Linked DNA regions of Homo sapiens: regions 1, 2, 4, 5 and 6 are each linked to region 3. Evidence: promoter capture Hi-C in human tissues and cell types (Jung and others, 2019). All regions are on one chromosome and are shown on one strand. The core of a region is centred on a gene start or on the middle of the fragment in contact, and the rest is flanking DNA. Distances in the headings are between cores, read along the strand shown. Region 1 overlaps KIAA1217. Region 2 overlaps ARHGAP21 (Rho GTPase activating protein 21). Region 3 holds the start of C10orf67 (chromosome 10 open reading frame 67). Region 4 overlaps KIAA1217. Region 5 overlaps ARHGAP21 (Rho GTPase activating protein 21). Region 6 overlaps ARHGAP21 (Rho GTPase activating protein 21).

The links. Contacts are between HindIII fragments. The study calls those that stand out against the background at their distance.
Region 1: a contact is called between a fragment that was not itself captured here and the fragment with the promoter of C10orf67 in region 3, in 1 of the 25 tissues and cell types used here (IMR-90 fibroblasts).
Region 2: a contact is called between a fragment that was not itself captured here and the fragment with the promoter of C10orf67 in region 3, in 1 of the 25 tissues and cell types used here (lymphoblastoid cells).
Region 4: a fragment that was not itself captured here is called in contact with the fragment with the promoter of C10orf67 in region 3 in 2 of the 25 tissues and cell types used here (dorsolateral prefrontal cortex and mesenchymal stem cells).
Region 5: a contact is called between a fragment that was not itself captured here and the fragment with the promoter of C10orf67 in region 3, in 1 of the 25 tissues and cell types used here (stomach).
Region 6: a fragment that was not itself captured here is called in contact with the fragment with the promoter of C10orf67 in region 3 in 1 of the 25 tissues and cell types used here (mesenchymal stem cells).

Annotation. Positions count from the first base shown.
Region 1 is chr10:24,443,147-24,445,846 of GRCh38, forward strand. The region is part of intron 5 of KIAA1217; the gene reads left to right. Among named protein-coding and RNA genes, the nearest start is that of MIR603, 170 kb to the left of the region's middle. The HindIII fragment of the contact is 3,473 bases long and covers 1-2,700 here.
Region 2 is chr10:24,685,256-24,687,972 of GRCh38, forward strand. The region is part of intron 2 of ARHGAP21 (Rho GTPase activating protein 21); the gene reads right to left. Among named protein-coding and RNA genes, the nearest start is that of ARHGAP21, 37 kb to the right of the region's middle. The HindIII fragment of the contact is 6,583 bases long and covers 1-2,717 here.
Region 3 is chr10:23,343,484-23,346,241 of GRCh38, forward strand. It overlaps C10orf67 (chromosome 10 open reading frame 67), which reads right to left and starts at 1,314. Exons shown (of 16, transcript NM_001371909.1): 1 at 1,086-1,314. The coding sequence starts at 1,291. It overlaps C10orf67-AS1 (C10orf67 antisense RNA 1), which reads left to right and starts at 474. Exons shown (of 2, transcript NR_155752.1): 1 at 474-607; 2 at 941-1,678. RefSeq lists a silencer at 2,437-2,731. The HindIII fragment of the contact is 15,239 bases long and covers 1-2,758 here.
Region 4 is chr10:24,387,526-24,390,225 of GRCh38, forward strand. All of the region lies in intron 3 of KIAA1217, which reads left to right. Among named protein-coding and RNA genes, the nearest start is that of MIR603, 110 kb to the left of the region's middle. The HindIII fragment of the contact is 6,473 bases long and covers 1-2,700 here.
Region 5 is chr10:24,622,855-24,625,647 of GRCh38, forward strand. The region is part of intron 7 of ARHGAP21 (Rho GTPase activating protein 21); the gene reads right to left. Among named protein-coding and RNA genes, the nearest start is that of ARHGAP21, 100 kb to the right of the region's middle. The HindIII fragment of the contact is 4,722 bases long and covers 1-2,793 here.
Region 6 is chr10:24,701,421-24,704,120 of GRCh38, forward strand. The region is part of intron 2 of ARHGAP21 (Rho GTPase activating protein 21); the gene reads right to left. Among named protein-coding and RNA genes, the nearest start is that of ARHGAP21, 21 kb to the right of the region's middle. The HindIII fragment of the contact is 5,523 bases long and covers 1-2,700 here.

The DNA of each region.
Region 1 (2,700 bases), core at 36-2,535, 1.1 Mb after region 3:
GTGATCCACCTGCCTCAGCCTCTCAAATTACAGGCGTGGGCTACTGCGCCTGGACAGTAATGTTAATTATTTAATCCTCAAGATAAACTTTTGAGCCAGGTCTTGGTATAAGCCCCCCTGTTTACAGATGATGAGACAGCTCCTTATGTTAAGAGATTTCCCCAAGGCCACACAGCCAGAGAGTAGCAGAACAGAGATTTAAACCCAGGCACCGTGGCTGCTGAAATTATAGCCTTCATTATCTCTCTACTGAATCACCTAACAGTTCTTACTTCCCACATCTCATTCTCCTGTTCTCTTTTTCCAAGTGTCTCAAATTCACTCTCCCTCTCTACATATCTGCCTTTCAAAATTCTACTCATCTAACATATTCCAGAACAATTGTCTAATTCCTTCAGCAAATTGCAGTCATGAAAAAAAAGTGGGGGAGGGAGCACAGTTAAGTTTCTCGGGGGTCTTCTGTACCATAATAACAAAATGTGGCCTGTGCACCATCTTCAGATTTTGAGAAGAACAAAGCAACTGTAAAAGACATCTTTAAAACTATTTGGGAAATTTGAACATGTGTTAGGAATCAGGAGATATTAAGGGATAGCTGGTAATTCTGTTAGGCATAATAATAGGTTAGTGGTTATGTTTTAAAAGATGGAACATACTAAAGTGTTTACAGGTTAAATGACATGAAAAATGGGACTTGCTTTAAAATACTGCAGCAAACCAAGAAAACAAAAAGGTGGAAGTAGATGAAACAAAATGGTAAAATGTTGAAAAATGTCAAAGCTGGATGATGGGGGTACCTTTTATTGTTTTCTCTACTTTTTTGTGTTTGAAAATTTTCATAATAAAATCTGTTTGTTTTCTTTTCTTTTCTTTTCTTTTTTCTGAGACAGAGTCTCACTCTGTCACCGGGCTGGAGTGCAGTGGTGCGATCTCAGCTCACTGCAACCTCTGCCTCCCGTGTTCAAGCAATTCTCCTCCCTTAGCCTCTTGAGTAGCCGGGACTACAGGTGCACACCACCACTCTTGGCACATTTTTGTATTTTTTACTAGAGACGGGGTTTCACCACGTTGACCAGGCTGGTCTCGAACTCCTGACCTCAGGTGATCCACCCGCCTCGGCCTCCTAAAGTGCTGGATTTACAGGCGTGAGCCACCATGCCCAGCCCATAATAAAATCTTTTACAAAATAATAAAAACTTGTTTTTAGAGCCCAAATAAAAGACTTCCTACCCCAGGAAGCTTTCGCTAATGCTCTGTCAGAATTCATCTTTCCCTTTTGGGGGCCTGTTGCACATTCGCATTGTGTTATAATCATTTAGCTGTGTGTTCATCTCATGCAAAAGACTGTACACTCTTCAAAGCCACAAGCCATATTATGTGATGATTCATCTTCACGTCCCTCCAAAAACCAGTCATGGCATCTTAACCCCTGGTGAGTGCAGAGTAAACACACTTGTTAAACAGGATGCGCTGAGTGTCCTACTGATGGTCCTACAAATGCCATATTATTCATTTTCTATCATTAATGAGGACCCACTGTAAAAATATCTCTCTGTTCTCATCACCAGAAATAGTTGTGCTTCTCCTGGTTTATTTTTATCATATGGACACTTTGAGTCTTGTAAGTGATCATTTTCCCTCTTTGTGTTGCTACTCTAAAGCTTAGAATTAAATTTGTGGCCCACCCACAGCAAGGGTACAGGCATTTGTGGCGTGTGTTTTGTGTGTTGGCTTCATTCCTGGACTCTCTTTTTAATTTTCCTACTTTCATCTTCCTTTGGTTGCACATTCTACTTTGACTTCTTTTTTCTGTAAAACTGTAAAAATGTATAGGAACTCTATTAATTTCTTGGTGCAATCTATCAGGATATAAATAGTATTCATTCTCTACCATCGTTGTTCTAGATAGAAGATAGCAAACCTTTTTGTGTCTGCAGAGTAGGCAGTGTGTTAAGTACTTTACATATTATTTAAATTAGTCAGTAACTCTGGCAAAGTGGGTATACTGACTTCGTTTTCACAGGTGATAAAACTGAAGCCAAAGAGGTCTTTCCCAAGCTCACACATCTGATCAATGTTGGACACTGGATTTGAACTTGTTTCTGCTTGTTTATACACAGCCCACAGCCTCCCTTCCTTGATATTTCCATTTAAGTTTTGCAATTTTGAAGTGATGTTCCTACTAAGACTTTAGAACAAACAAAATATGCTTTATTAAACATTTGTTTCATTTCTGTTTTTAATTATTATTATACTTTAAGTTTTAGGGTACATGTGCACAACGTGCAGGTTTGTTACATATGTATACATGTGCCATGTTGGTGTGCTGCACCCATTAACTCATCATTTAGCATTAGGTATATCCTAATGCTATCCCTCCCCCCTCCCCCCACCCCACAACAGTCCCTGGTGTGTGATGTTCCCCTTCCTGTGTCCATGTGTTCTCATTCTTCAATTCCCACCTATAAGTGAGAACATGCGGTCTTTGGTTTTTTGTCCTTGCGATAGTTTGCTGAGAATGATGGTTTCCAGCTTCATCCATGTCCCTACAAAGGACATGAACTCATCATTTTTTATGGCTGCATAGTATTCCATGGTGTATATGTGCCACATTTTCTTAATCCAGTCTATCCTTGTTGGACATTTGGGTTGGTTCCAAGTCTTTGCTATTGTGAATAGTGCCGCAATAAACATACCTGT
Region 2 (2,717 bases), core at 158-2,657, 1.3 Mb after region 3:
GAATACATATTCAAAAGAGTTTAGTGGCAGTCAATCATATTTAGTATAGGTCCAAAACAACAAGAGCATCCAATCAATATAGATATTAGCAGTTTATAGTGTCATAAGCATTTGGCCCCTACTCTCAAAGCCTAACTAGCTCTATTAAGCATTTATAATCAGTTACCTTTTAAGCATGTCTACCAAAATCAAAGATCACGATTTTATTTACATTCCTGATTTGCTGTTAACTTCCCAAAGAGTATCTACCAGTCATAAAGATACAATGAGATTATCATTTAGTGCAACAAACCTCTTTCTTTTCTAAATATAATACCGTATTGATAGAATTGTCTTCTTGGCTGGTGCAGTGGCTCACACCTGTAATCCCAGCACTTTGGGAGGCCGAGGTGGGCGGATCACTTGAGGTCAGGAGTTCAAGATCAGCCTGGCCAACATGGTAAAACCCCGTCTCTACTAGAAATACAAAAATTTGTCAGGCATGGTGGCAGACGCCAGTAATCCCAGCTACTCAGGAGGCTGAGGCAGGAGAATCGCTTGAACCTGGGAAGTGGAGGTTGCAGTGAGCCAAGATCGCACCACTGCACTCCAGTTTAGTTAACCCACTCACTAACATTATTTTCAATAAGGAGAGGACACTGAAGAAAAGATATTAAGCTAAAACAAATCAAGAAAAACATGGTACCACACTGTTAAGATGAAATCAAATGGGAATTCACATATACTTCACTGGAAGTACAATCTTCCTATAAACCTACTTGGCAATATCTACTAAGAAACTTCAATTTTATACTTGTTAAGCTAGTAAATAATGAAATAAGAGATAAGGGCAAAAAGACAGATTACAAGCTATTCATTCCAAGGTATAAATAACTCAAATTGGAAACTACTTAGGCCGGACATGGTGAGTCATGCCTGTAATCCCAGCACTTTGGGAAGCCGAGGCAAGAGGACTGCTTGAGCCCAGGAGTTGAAACCAGCTGTGTAACATGATGAGGCCCTGTCTCTACAAAAAATTTAAAAATCAGCCAGACATAGTAGCATGCATCTGTGGTCCAAGCTACATGGGAGGCTAAGGCAGGTGGATCCCTTGAGCCCAAGAGGTCAAGGCTGCAGTGAGCCGAGATGGCGCCACACACTCCAGCCTGGGCAACAGAGTGAGACCCTATCTCAAATAAATAAATAAATAAATAAAAATAAAGATAAATAAACTCAAACTGGAAACTATGTTGTCTAACAACAACAAAAAAGAATAGTAAGTAAATTATGATACAGCTCCTAAAGTCATGACTGTGAACATTTTTCAATGGCATGAGAAAATGCCCAAAATATAATGTTAAGCAAAAATATAAAACTCCCCAATATGATCAAAATTATTTTAATCACATACACACTTTTTGGAATTAGGAGCTGTTTAAATTTTTTCCTGAACGATTCATGGATTTTCCATAATGAACATGCACGCAAGCAGTTGTTACCTTTCACATCCAGTTGCAATATTGGGCGGCACATCCCTGCAGATGAGTTATGACTGTTTTCACATGTTTCCCGTGTACTAACTGAATAAACTATTCCTTTCTCAGCACCAAAGTGCCTTACAGCAGAACTTCCCGATCAGTGTACTTTAAGGCTTAAAAGCAGTTTCTAAGCCAGGTGAGGTGACTCACATCCATAATCCCAGCACTTTGGGAGACTGAGGCAGGCAATGGTTTGAGCCCAGAAGTTCACCTGCTACTTCCAGGAGAGCAAGGGCAACCTGATACCAACCTGGCCAACATGGTGAAACCCCATTTCTACAAAAAATACAAAATTTAGCCAGGTGTGGTGGTGCATGCCTGTAGTCCAAGCTACTCAGGAGGCTGAGGTGGGAGGGTGAGCCCATGAGGTCTGGGTGATGGAGACCCTGTCTCAAAGAAAAAAAAAGGCAGTTTCCCAGGCCCTCTACTGTAGAGAGTACCTTTACTGTAGGACTTACTAACCATATTATAATTGCTTGTTCATACATCTATCTCTTTAATCACAGAGCAGCTTCCTGACAAGATGCCCAAGTCTTACTCTAGTGCCCAACACAAAACCTGACAGAAAGCAGGACCTCAAAAATGAATGAAATTTATACGAAATGAGTAAAGTTTACATAAAACAAAGATAATAGAAAATGAAGACTTTAAAACATTGTTGGGGAATTGTTCTTATTTCCTTATTTCTCCATTTTCCTCATTTGAGGCAGTGAGTGCATATAGCACATTTCACAACAACTAGACAAAACCAGAGAAACAGACATAAACTCAAATACAGATATGCCTATTTTTACACATTTTCTTGTAAAGAAGTTTTACCAAATAGAGATATTTTCAAAAGCTACTTTATGATATGAATAAAATCTTGTTTACTCTGAATCAAGGAACAGATTGCATTTCTGTGGTTAAAAACAATTACTTCCCTTCCCTTTGGGTAGACAGGAATCACCAAATTAAAAGTCGAGCTTAAATTTCAGTTCATCTTAGCTACCAATGAAATAATGCAATCCCCTTTGAGCAGATACCAGCAATACCAAGCACGAATATAGGCTACGGAAGAAAAAGCTACAGACGGTCAGACACATATCATGTGGTTTCACTATTTTGCTTGATGAGCTATGATTATCTTGACTATGATTATCAGAAACTCATCTTATTAAATGTATGTATAAATAAGTTTTTATAATGTAAGTTAATTTT
Region 3 (2,758 bases), core at 64-2,563:
TATGTTGTTTTGTTACAGCAGCCCGAGGGGACTAAGACGGGTACTGTGTCCTAGATTAGCTCATTTAATATTCACTATGATCTATGAAGCAGGCACTACTCTTCATCATTCATGAACGATTATTTCCCGCTGAGAAAACTGAGGCACAGAGCAGTCAGTCGCCTAACTCACGGCCCCTGTGAGAGGGTCGCCAAGATTCTGGAATCCGGGCAGTCTGGCTCCAGAGTCCGTGCTCTTAGTGTCCAGCTATACACTTGAAGAAGTGAAAACTGCAGCTCTTTTCGGACAGTGATCCCCTCGAAAAACAAACAAAAAACTGAAGCCCAGCGGCTGGAGCAAGGGGCCTGGAAAGGCGTTGAGCGAGGGCCGGGGCGCGAGGGCTCCGGGGCGGGCCGGCGGGGACTGCCTCTCCCGCTGGTCACCTGGGGTTGAACTGGAATTGTTCAATAGAGGCCTCGAGGCCCTCCATGATCTTCCGGCCCTCCTCTGTCTCAGGCGAGTCGCCCCAGTTCGCCATTGCAGCCCCGGACGTGCGCCTCCCGCGGAGCCGCTCGCTCTCCTGAGTCGGAGTCGGGAACCCGGCGTCCGTTGCCATGGCGACTCCCAGGTAACCGGCGAAGCGCGGGAATCCGTGGGCGGGGGCCGGGGAGGGCCGCGAGTGGAGGGGGGTGGGGAACGGGGTGGGGAGGGGAAGGGGGAAGGAGATGGGGAGGAGGGGGATAGGGAGAAGGTTGGGGATGGGGGGGAAGGGGAGAGGGAAAGGAAGTAGAGGAGGTGTGGAGGGAAGGAAGAGGGGGAAGGAGTGGGGGAAGGGGGAAGAGATGGAAAGGAGGATGGGGAGGGAGCACGCGCGGGAGGAGGGGAGTGGAGAGGGGGAGGAGGAGGCGGGGCGGGCTCCCAAGCCACCCCGCTGCGCTTTCACTGTCCCGCCTGCCTCAAGGCTTCCCCACAAGACTCCCACAGCCTGGAGGCTGCTGCGATACCCCAGAGGAAAGCTGCACCCCCGTAAATAACCCTTCAGCCTCCCGCCGTGCCCCTGGACCCTGCTCGCTTCCTCCTCTACCCAGGCGCGGAGCTCAGCCTACCTCGTGGACCCGCGCATTTGCGGGGGCTTGAATTCCCGAGCTTCTCGCTTCCTACGCGCGCAGCAGACCCGCAGCTCGGTGGCCTTGGCTTTCATGGCCTCCCAGCGTGTGCCAAAGGTCCCCCTCAAGGAGGAGGAAAAGCAGTGAACCCATCTAATAACTATGCTCATGACATAATGAGCCCTGCGATCCCGGACCAAGGCCATCATAAGAGGAGAGCAGGCTGCCTAATAAGCTGTCTCCACCTGCCACAAACGTAGGCGTTCCTGGACAAAATATTTCCTTGCAGAGATTAAACAGATTTCTATTTAATGAGGTCAGAATGTGAGGCGTTAAGTCTTAAACTATACCATCTAGTGTGGAATTCAATTTTACCAGGTTTCTACAATAATAAGAGTTAATAGTGAAACTGTTGTCATCCTTAGTTTTAAATTATGTATCACTCATTGTCAACTAATAGGAGACACCTATTCTAATATCAGTATGTCATTGTTTTTCTGTAAACGACTGGCTAAATTTATTTTTAAAATGTCATTGTCTGGTTTAGAACTGTCTATACTACATCTGCATTTCAATATATTATCTACAGAAAAATAAGTTTTTTCTCCTCTCTCTTATTATTATTATTATTATTTTTTGGAGCCGGAGTCTCGCTCTGTCGCCCAGGCTGGGGTGCAGTGGCGCGATCTGGGCTCACTGCAACCTCCGCCTCCCGGGTTCAAGCAATTCTCCTGCTTCAGCCTCCCGAGCAGCTGGGACTACAGGCACACAGCACCAAGCCAGGCTAATTTTTTGTATTTTTAGTAGAGACGGGGTTTCACCGCGTTGTGCAGGCTAGTCTAACTCCTGAGCTCAGGCAATCTGCCCCCCTCGGCCTCCCAAAGTGCTAGATAACAGGCGTGAGCCACAGAGCCCGGCCTCTTCTCTGTCTTGTAACAGTAAGTGAAAATAACTTAGCTGGATTTAGAAGCTCAAAACAGGAAAAGAAAAGCACTGTAGCATTATCACTACTATTATGTTTAAAGACAAAGATTAAAAGCCCCAAATGCCAATAAAACATCATAACCAATGCCAAAATCATCTTCTGTGAAGGCTTATTTTTTGGGGGGGAGATGAAGAGAGAAGAGAAAAAGAGTTACTTTTACTCTTTGGAGGTTTTTAATTACAAACTCTAACTTCAGACTTTATTTGGGGAATTTTTATTATATAATCAAAAGGTATTTTAAAAGAAAGAAATTTATATATCTACAATAACTTTTCTTTTTCCTAAGTGATATTTTACCACAATGTATATACATGTTTTAAAATAAAGATTAAAATTTTAAGTTAAAATTTCAAAACCTATCTGTTTAGAGCTGGGCCAAGACAGTGTAAAGAATGTGACAAGCTGTTGGCTATTTTCCTAGTGCAATTATAAATGAATCGTTTGAAACTGAGGAGAGAGATCGCACAGAAGATTTCATGAGTCATTGGTCAGCTCTGTACAGCATTTGTTGACTGATATAGTCTGCATAGTTACGCCATCCCACAAAAACATGCATTGAACAGAACATCTTTGTTTGAAACCTTGCTATAGCATATCAAGGAGTTTCAGATTTCAGTGTCTAAGAGACCACGCTATGATGATGATTGTTTTTGAAACCGTTAACTACATAATACTTCTCTTCTTGTCA
Region 4 (2,700 bases), core at 7-2,506, 1.0 Mb after region 3:
TCAACATAGTGTTGGAAGTTCTGGCCAGGGCAATCAGGCAAGAGAAAGAAATAAAGGGTATTCAATTAGGAAAAGAGGAAGTCAAATTCTCCCTGTTTGCAGGTGACATGACTGTATATTTAAAAACCCCCGTTGTCTCAGCCCAAAATCTCCTTAAGCTGATAAGCAACTTCAGCAAAGTCTCAGGATACAAAATCAATGTGCAAAAATCACAAGCATTCCTATACACCAATAACAGACAAACAGAGAGCCAAATCATGAGTGAACTCCCATTCACAATTGCTTCAAAGAGAATAAAATACCTAGGAATCCAACTTACAAGGGATGTGAAGGACCTCTTCAAGGAGAACTACAAACCACTTCTCAACGAAATAAAAGAGGACACAAACAAATGGAAGAACATTCCATGCTCATGGATAGGAAGAGTCAATATTGTGAAAATGGCCATACTGCCCAAGGTAATTTATAGATTCAATGCCATCCCCATCAAGCTACCAATGACTTTCTTCACAGAATTGGAAAAGACTACTTTAAAGTTCATATGGAACCAAAAAAGAGGCTGTATAGCCAAGACAATCCTAAGCCAAAAGAACAAAGCTGGAGGCATCACACTACCTGACTTCAAACTATACTACAAGGCTACAGTAACCAAAACAGCATGGTACTGGTACCAAAACAGAGATACAGACCAATGGAACAGAACAGAGCCCTCAGAAATAATACCACACATCTACAACTGTCTGATCTTTGACAAACCTGACAAAAACAAGCAATGGGGAAAGGATTCCCTATTTATTTAATAAATGGTGCCGGGAAAACTGGCTAGCCATATGTGGAAAGCTGAAACTGGATCCCTTCCTTACAGCTTATACAAAAATTAATTCAAGATGAATTAAAGGCTTAAATGTTAGACCTAAAACCGCAAAAACCCTAGAAGAAAACCTAGGCAATACCATTCAGGACAGAGGCATGGGCAAAGACTTCATGACTAAAACACCAAAAGCAATGGCAACAAAAGCCAAAATTGACAAATGGGATCTAATTAAACTAAAGAGCTTCTGTACAGCAAAAGAAACTACCATCAGAGTGAACAGGCAACCTACAGAATGGGAGAAAATTTTTACAATCTACCCACCTGACAAAGGGCTAATATCCAGAATCTACAAAGAACTTAAACAAATTTACAAGAAAAAATCAAACTCTTCAACAAGCGGGCGAAGGATATGAACAGACACTTCTCAAAAGAAGACATTTATGCATCCAACAGACACATGAAAAAATGCTCATCATCACTGGTCATCAGAGAAATGCAAATCAATCCACAATGAGATACCATCTCACACCAGTTAGAATGGCGATCATTAAAAAGTCAGGAAACGACATGTGCTGGAGAGGATGTGGAGAAATAGGAACACTTTTACACTGTTGGTGGGACTGTAAACTAGTTCAACCATTGTGGAAGACAGTGTGGTGATTCCTCAAGGATCTAGAACTAGAAATAGCATTTGACCCAACCATCCCATTACTGGGCATATATCCAAAGGATTATAAATCATGCTGCTATAAACACACACACGTACGTTTATTGCAGCACTATTCACAATAGCAAAGACTTGGAACCAGCCCAAACGTCCATCAATGATAGACTGGATTAAGAAAATGTGGCACATATACACCATGTAATACTATGTAGCCATAAAAAAGGATGAGTTCATGTCCTTTGTAGGGACATGGATGAAGCTGGAAACCATCATTCTCAGCAAACTATCGCAAGGACAGAAAACCAAACACCACATGTTCTCACTCATAGGTGGGAATTGAACAATGAGAACACTTGGACACAGGGTGGGGAATATCACACACTGGGGCCTGTGGTGGGGTGGGGGAATGGGGGAGGGATAGCATTAGGAGATATACCTAATGTAAATGATGAGTTAATGGGTGTAGCACACCAACATGGCACATGTATACATATGTAACAAACCTGCACGTTGTGTACATGTACCCTAGAACTTAAAGTATAATAAAAAAAAAAAAGAAAGAAAGAAAATACAACAACAACCACAACAACAAAATGTCAGAGCATTCTCTCTAGCATCAGAACCAGCGCCCTGGCCTAAGTAGCTGGGAGTGGGTGGTTAGGGTGTCTGGCTGGAATCACCCATACCAGTCTCTTCCTAGTGCACCTGCTGCTACCACTGAGGCTGGAAAGCAGATTCTTTCTGGAATATCCAATGTGCTGGGTTCTGGAAGGTGAGAAGCAAGGCAGTTGTGGAGACTTGGGTTTTTTGTTTTGTTTTGTTTTGTTTTTTTTCAGCATTATTTGCCAAGCTCCCAGGGCACGGCCACCAGCTTGATCGGGTTGAGACTGCTGGGGCAGGCATCCATCTCTAGTACTGAAGTGAAGGTGAGGCCCAACTCTGCATCTGTGCTGGCAGCTTCCAATCAAGGCAGCATGGCTTTGGAATCACACCTGACCAGAGTTTAAGGAAGCTTCCTCTTTACCAAACCAGGTCTATAGTCACCCAGTTTTACTGTGAAGATTCAGCCCAGTGATTCTGCAAGCCATTTAATAAATCCATTTTTTTTAACTGGCTGAACCAGTTCAGTTCTCTACAACTGATCTCTGACTGCACAGGGGCCTAACTTATTATATTTGTAGATATTGTAGTGCTGCCTGTTCTGTGTGTTTCAGGAAAT
Region 5 (2,793 bases), core at 79-2,578, 1.3 Mb after region 3:
AATACATCTATACTTGTTTCTCTGGAAGGTACCAAGAGAGGTAAAGGGCAGTGAAGCATAAAGAATAACTCCAGTATTCTTCTGAACATCTTTTTCTCAGGCTTTTATCTGATTCTTGTTTGATGTGTCTACCATTCTTGAAAGCAAAATACATCTGGTGACATGCATTCCTAACAGATATTTTCTTCAATATGCACTGCTGTCTGATAACATGCTACAAAGCTTCCCTCCACGAAAGCAACAGTGATGTCTCTCATTTCCCCCCAGCTTCTTCCATCTCTGCTTCCAGATGACGAAACGAATGCTCTATTATGCATTTAAAATAGTACAACCTCCTCCTTCCCCAGTAAATCAGAGCATAACCACAAGCTGTCAGCAGACTGCAGCTGCCTTTACACTAAGATTCAGGGGGGAAAATGACTTCTTTTAAGTAAGTTTCACTCAAAAATTAAGATCTTTCAACACTGTGCCTTTTGTACTATTGTATTAGTTTGCAAAAATAACTACTGGATAGACATAAAAATATTACTTCCAGAGTAATTCTTGTTAACCTATAATAAATATTATAGAACAGAGACTAGAATGCAGTGACAAATTAAAGCTAGCCATATAAAATAAAATATGTCTACATAGTATTTTTATGGCATGAATACAGTTAATCCCAACATGCATTTTGGGTGTGTGCATTGACACACCAAGTCTATCTTTTCCATGCTGATTAGAATCATACCAATACTTTTCTGCAATAGGAAAATTGTGTCTGGATGAGAGAATACTGTACTGTCTGGTACAGCATTTCCCACAACATCCTTGTGTAGTTTTATTATATACCACCTGAAAAGGAGGATGGGGGAGAGGAGGTCCCTATGGTCAATGATGTAGGGCCACTTGGCAAGCTTTTTGATTTCTCAAAACCACGACGACACTAATGTACATTGTGAAATTCGAAAGGAAAATATAAACTTATTCACCATGGAGGCCATTTTTTTCCCAGAGGTTTTAACATAATTAGAATATCTACTTGGGTAATGCTATTCTAGAACTAATATTTTAAAGATGACTCCTTTATTCAAATTTGGGAAGAAATATTACTGTTTAGTAATAGAAGTATACGGCTGGAACTATTAAAACTTGAGAATATTTTACATACTTCAGACATCTCTAATATTCCTGTATGGCAATTCTAAATGCTAAATAGTCTACATTACAGTCACAGGTCCCCACTTCTGAGTTAAGTTATCACAAGGGGCCCTGAAATCCATACAAATGCAGGCATTAACAGTGAACATCTCACACATGCAGTACTATTATCTAATGTAAGCAGATATGGTTGAGATAAAATATGAATTCATTCAAGAACATTTTTCACAAAATGTACATTGTGAAACTCAAAAGTACAAACTTACTCGCCAGGGAACCCATTTTTTTCCCCAGAGATTTTAAAATAATTAGAATATCTGCCTGGGAAATGCTGTTCTAGAACTTTTTTTTTTTTTTTTTTTTGAGACCGAGTCTCACTCTGTTGCCCAGGCTGGAGTGCAGTGGCGCAATCTTGGCTCACTGCAACCTGTGCCTCCCAGGTTCAAGCAATTCTCCTGCCTCAGCCTCCTGAGTAGCTGGGATTACAGGCATGAGCCACCATGCTCAGCTAATTTTTGTATTTTTAATGGAGGTGGGGTTTCACTATGTTCGCCAGGTTGGTCTCGAACTCCTGACCTCAAGTGATCCACCTGCCTCGGACTCCCAAAGTGCCAGGATTACAGGTGTGAACCACCGAGCCCGGGTAGAACTAATATTTTAAAGCTATCTCCTTTATTCAAATTTGGGGAGGAATATTATTTTTGAAACCAATGTCATAAGAATTACATATTCAGTATTAACAATTTTGAATTTTAGTTAGGCTTTAAGCCCAAATGGATACTTTACAACATATGAAAGTGTTTTGATAGAATCAGACAACATTTAAATTTTTCCCAATTTACTAGCTCTTGTGAATTCAACAGAATATGACAAAACATTTTTAGCCATTTTTTCCACTCAGCCTTTTTGTATACCACTTCACATTCCTTCTTGAGCTTTCTTTACCCTTGTACTTAAGTATTACACCTTTTGGAGTTTAACAGCTTGTATTTTAAAAACTGAAGCCTTCCCTAACAGCCCTGTTTTGCCTATTAGATACAAAAAGCTCTAAAAAGTGGGGGGGGGGGGGGAGGAGGAGGAGGAAGAAAATAAGAAAGATGACCCAAAGAATTCTTTCTTTGTAATTAGAACTCCAAACAGTATGTTAAATACAACTTAATATTAACAGCCTGGATCTTGATTATATGTACAATGCCTAATAGTAACTAAATAACCCTAAAATAATCTCTAGTTCATTTTTTATACAGTCACATCAAAATCACCATGACCATACCTATGATAAATGGTAAACAAAATGAAACAGAGAAAAAAAAAAAAAAAAAAAAAAAACCTGAAGAATAAATAAGGTGGTAAGATTAAAATTCCTGCCTTTCAGTTCACCTTTAACAGGTTATTAATTTAATGCCTTTACCTATGATAAAAGCAAGAGTAACTTCATGTTTGTTGGTAGATGCCAACCATGCCAGCATAGGGAATGGGAGAAGGGGATGGTGTAGATGGAGAAGGACTTTCTTTTTATTATACCTTTCTGCATTATTTCAAATATTTTCAACCAGCACATACTATTCTTGTAATTATTTAAAAATAGATTTTAAAAAATTACAAAGTAAACTGCTGCTAACCTGCAAAATATGAAAGAACCCTCCAGAATTC
Region 6 (2,700 bases), core at 87-2,586, 1.4 Mb after region 3:
AAAAAAAAAGTGCCTTCTTTAATGGCATGATTGTTTTTCCCTTTGTAATATCTTAAATTGGAACAGAACATTTCTCTGAGAAGGGAACATGTGAATAGAACCCTAAAGAAAGCAAAGCAGCAGGCTATGCAGAGATCTGAAATGAAAGTATTTCAGGAAGTGGGAACGGTGAGTGCAAAGGCCCTGAGATGAACAGCAAAGGAGGCCAGTGTGGTTAGAGAAGAATGACTAGGGTTTGAAAAGGAAGTAGAAACAGGGTACTGGAGATAATGAAAGAAGGGAACAAAATCTCTTCAGGCCCTTGGCTTTTATGCTAATATGGGCAGCCTCTGGTGGACTCTGGTAGAATACCATGTTCATGTTCTGATGTTTAAAATGATCATACTCGATGCTGAGCTGAAAACAGACCGCAGGCTGTATACAAGTATCTACAGAAGTGATAATGCCAGGATCTCCCATGCTTGATGCTCCCCAGTATTCCTTCTGAGTTCCCTATGTATGTGGCTGTGTAATAACAGCTGTCATTGGACTTGAAGGAAACCAAGAACTGGGATTATGTGATATGCCATATATATGAAACCTTAATGCACAACTTCTTGTATCTGGCTCCATTATTACCAAACATTCAACCCCTATTTCTAAACACTGATTAGAACATTTGAAATTTATCACACACCTTGGTGAGGGGGAGAAAATACTTCCGGTTCTTTTTTTTTTTTTTTTTTTTTGAGACGGAGTCTTGCTCTGTCGTCCAGTCTGGAGTGCAGTGGCGCGATCTCGGCTCACTGCAAGTTCCATTTCCCGGGTTCACGCCATTCTCCTGCCTCAGCCTTCTGAGTAGCTGGGACTACAGGCACCCGCCATCACGCCTGGCTAATTTTTTTGTATTTTTAGTAGAGACGGGGTTTCACCGTGTTAGCCAGGATGGTCTCGATCTCCTGACCTCGTGATCCGCCTGCCTCAGCCTCCCAAAGTGCTAGGATTACAGGCGTGAGCCACCACGCCTGGCCAATACCTCCATTCTTAATTGTGGTATGGGAATAACCAGTATTGTAATCTACAACTTTTTAAAATTCACTCATCTGTCAAGAAGCCCAAGAACAATCACCTCTCTAAGATCTTCAGAATACAAAAAATGTATTGTTTTAAGGTTTTTTTTTTGGTTTTTTGTTTTTTGGTTTTTTGAGACAAGGTCTTGCTCTGTCACCCAGGCTGGAGTGCAGTGGCAGAATCTCGGTTCACTGCAACCTCCACTTCCCCGGCTCAAGCAATTGCCCCACCTCAGCCTCCCAAATATCTGGGACTACAGGTGTGCACTACTATACTCAGCTAATTGTTTTGTAAAGATGAGGTCTCACTATATTGCCCAGGCTGTTATTAAAGTTATATCCTAAAAATAGTGTCACTATGACCCAGTAATTTCACCTCTAAGACTGTATCCTATGAAAATAATCCTGAACAGGAAACAGTTTAAAACACAAAGATATTCACCACACATTATAAGAGCAGAACACTGGAAGCAATTTAAATGTTCAACAGATAAATGGTTTCAATATATATACACACACACATAATACATAGTTTATATTATAGTGTATAATATTATACACTGTACTTTACACTCTATATTATATAGGCATTGAAAATGATGTCCTAAAATGGAAAAGTGTACATAATATTCCAACTTGTAAAACCCACACACAAACTAGACACACTGGGTGAAAAAAAATGGCAGTATCAATATATTAACAGGAGTTGAATTTGAAGGATTTAATTAAGTAAACCAATTTTAATTTTCCAGTTTTTACAAGTGACCATGCATTTGTAATTTTTAAAATTAAATTAATGGATTTTTTACTACCATCTCTTTACTTTTAATGTAAATCTCATATAACATCACCTATACCAACTTAGAATACGCTAATAATAATTGTAAGCATGTATTAAGCACTCAACACGCCAGCACTATGTTAAATGCTATATCCAGGTTATCTCATTTTAAACTTCACAACAATCCCTGATGTTGGTACTGTCAGAGAGGAGAAGGCAAGTAACACTCAAGCCATACCACTGCCACAGAGCCAGGAACAACTCCAGGCCTTGAATTCAGTTCTTGGGCACTAAACTCTGCACTTTCAACTATAACACTATACTGCCTCCATACAACAGTGGTAATATTTAATAAGTAATGTTACCTTGCAGAATTCTCAGTATGCAACCTGAGAAACATGATGGCCACTCTCCCACTTCCCATGGTATCATTTCTTTTGTCTGTCTCCTTCAGTTGTTCTCCTTCCTTCCCATCCTGCCTTTTCTGCGACTTGTTTTCTCTCACCCATACTTCTTTCCGACCTATACCATAAGCTTTCCAAGGGTATCCGGCAGCATCCTTGATTACTGCTTAGCTTCAACGGTGAAACTCAAAGAAACCAAGTGCTGTCCTAAGTATTCCTATAAACAAGAGGTTACACACTAAAAGCCTAGAGCCACATCTGGTCAGCAGATGTATTTTGCTTAGATCTCACTATTTTGAAAACCTTGAATTAGTCATCAACATTTAAAAATTAGGACACGTTAACATGAAAATTCAAATTTTCAGCTTCTCTTGAAATCTAAATGATCTGACAACAGTGGGTACAACATGACAACAATCTCCTAAAGCCAAATCTCTAGTTATCCATGGTCTCCACCAGCCTCTAT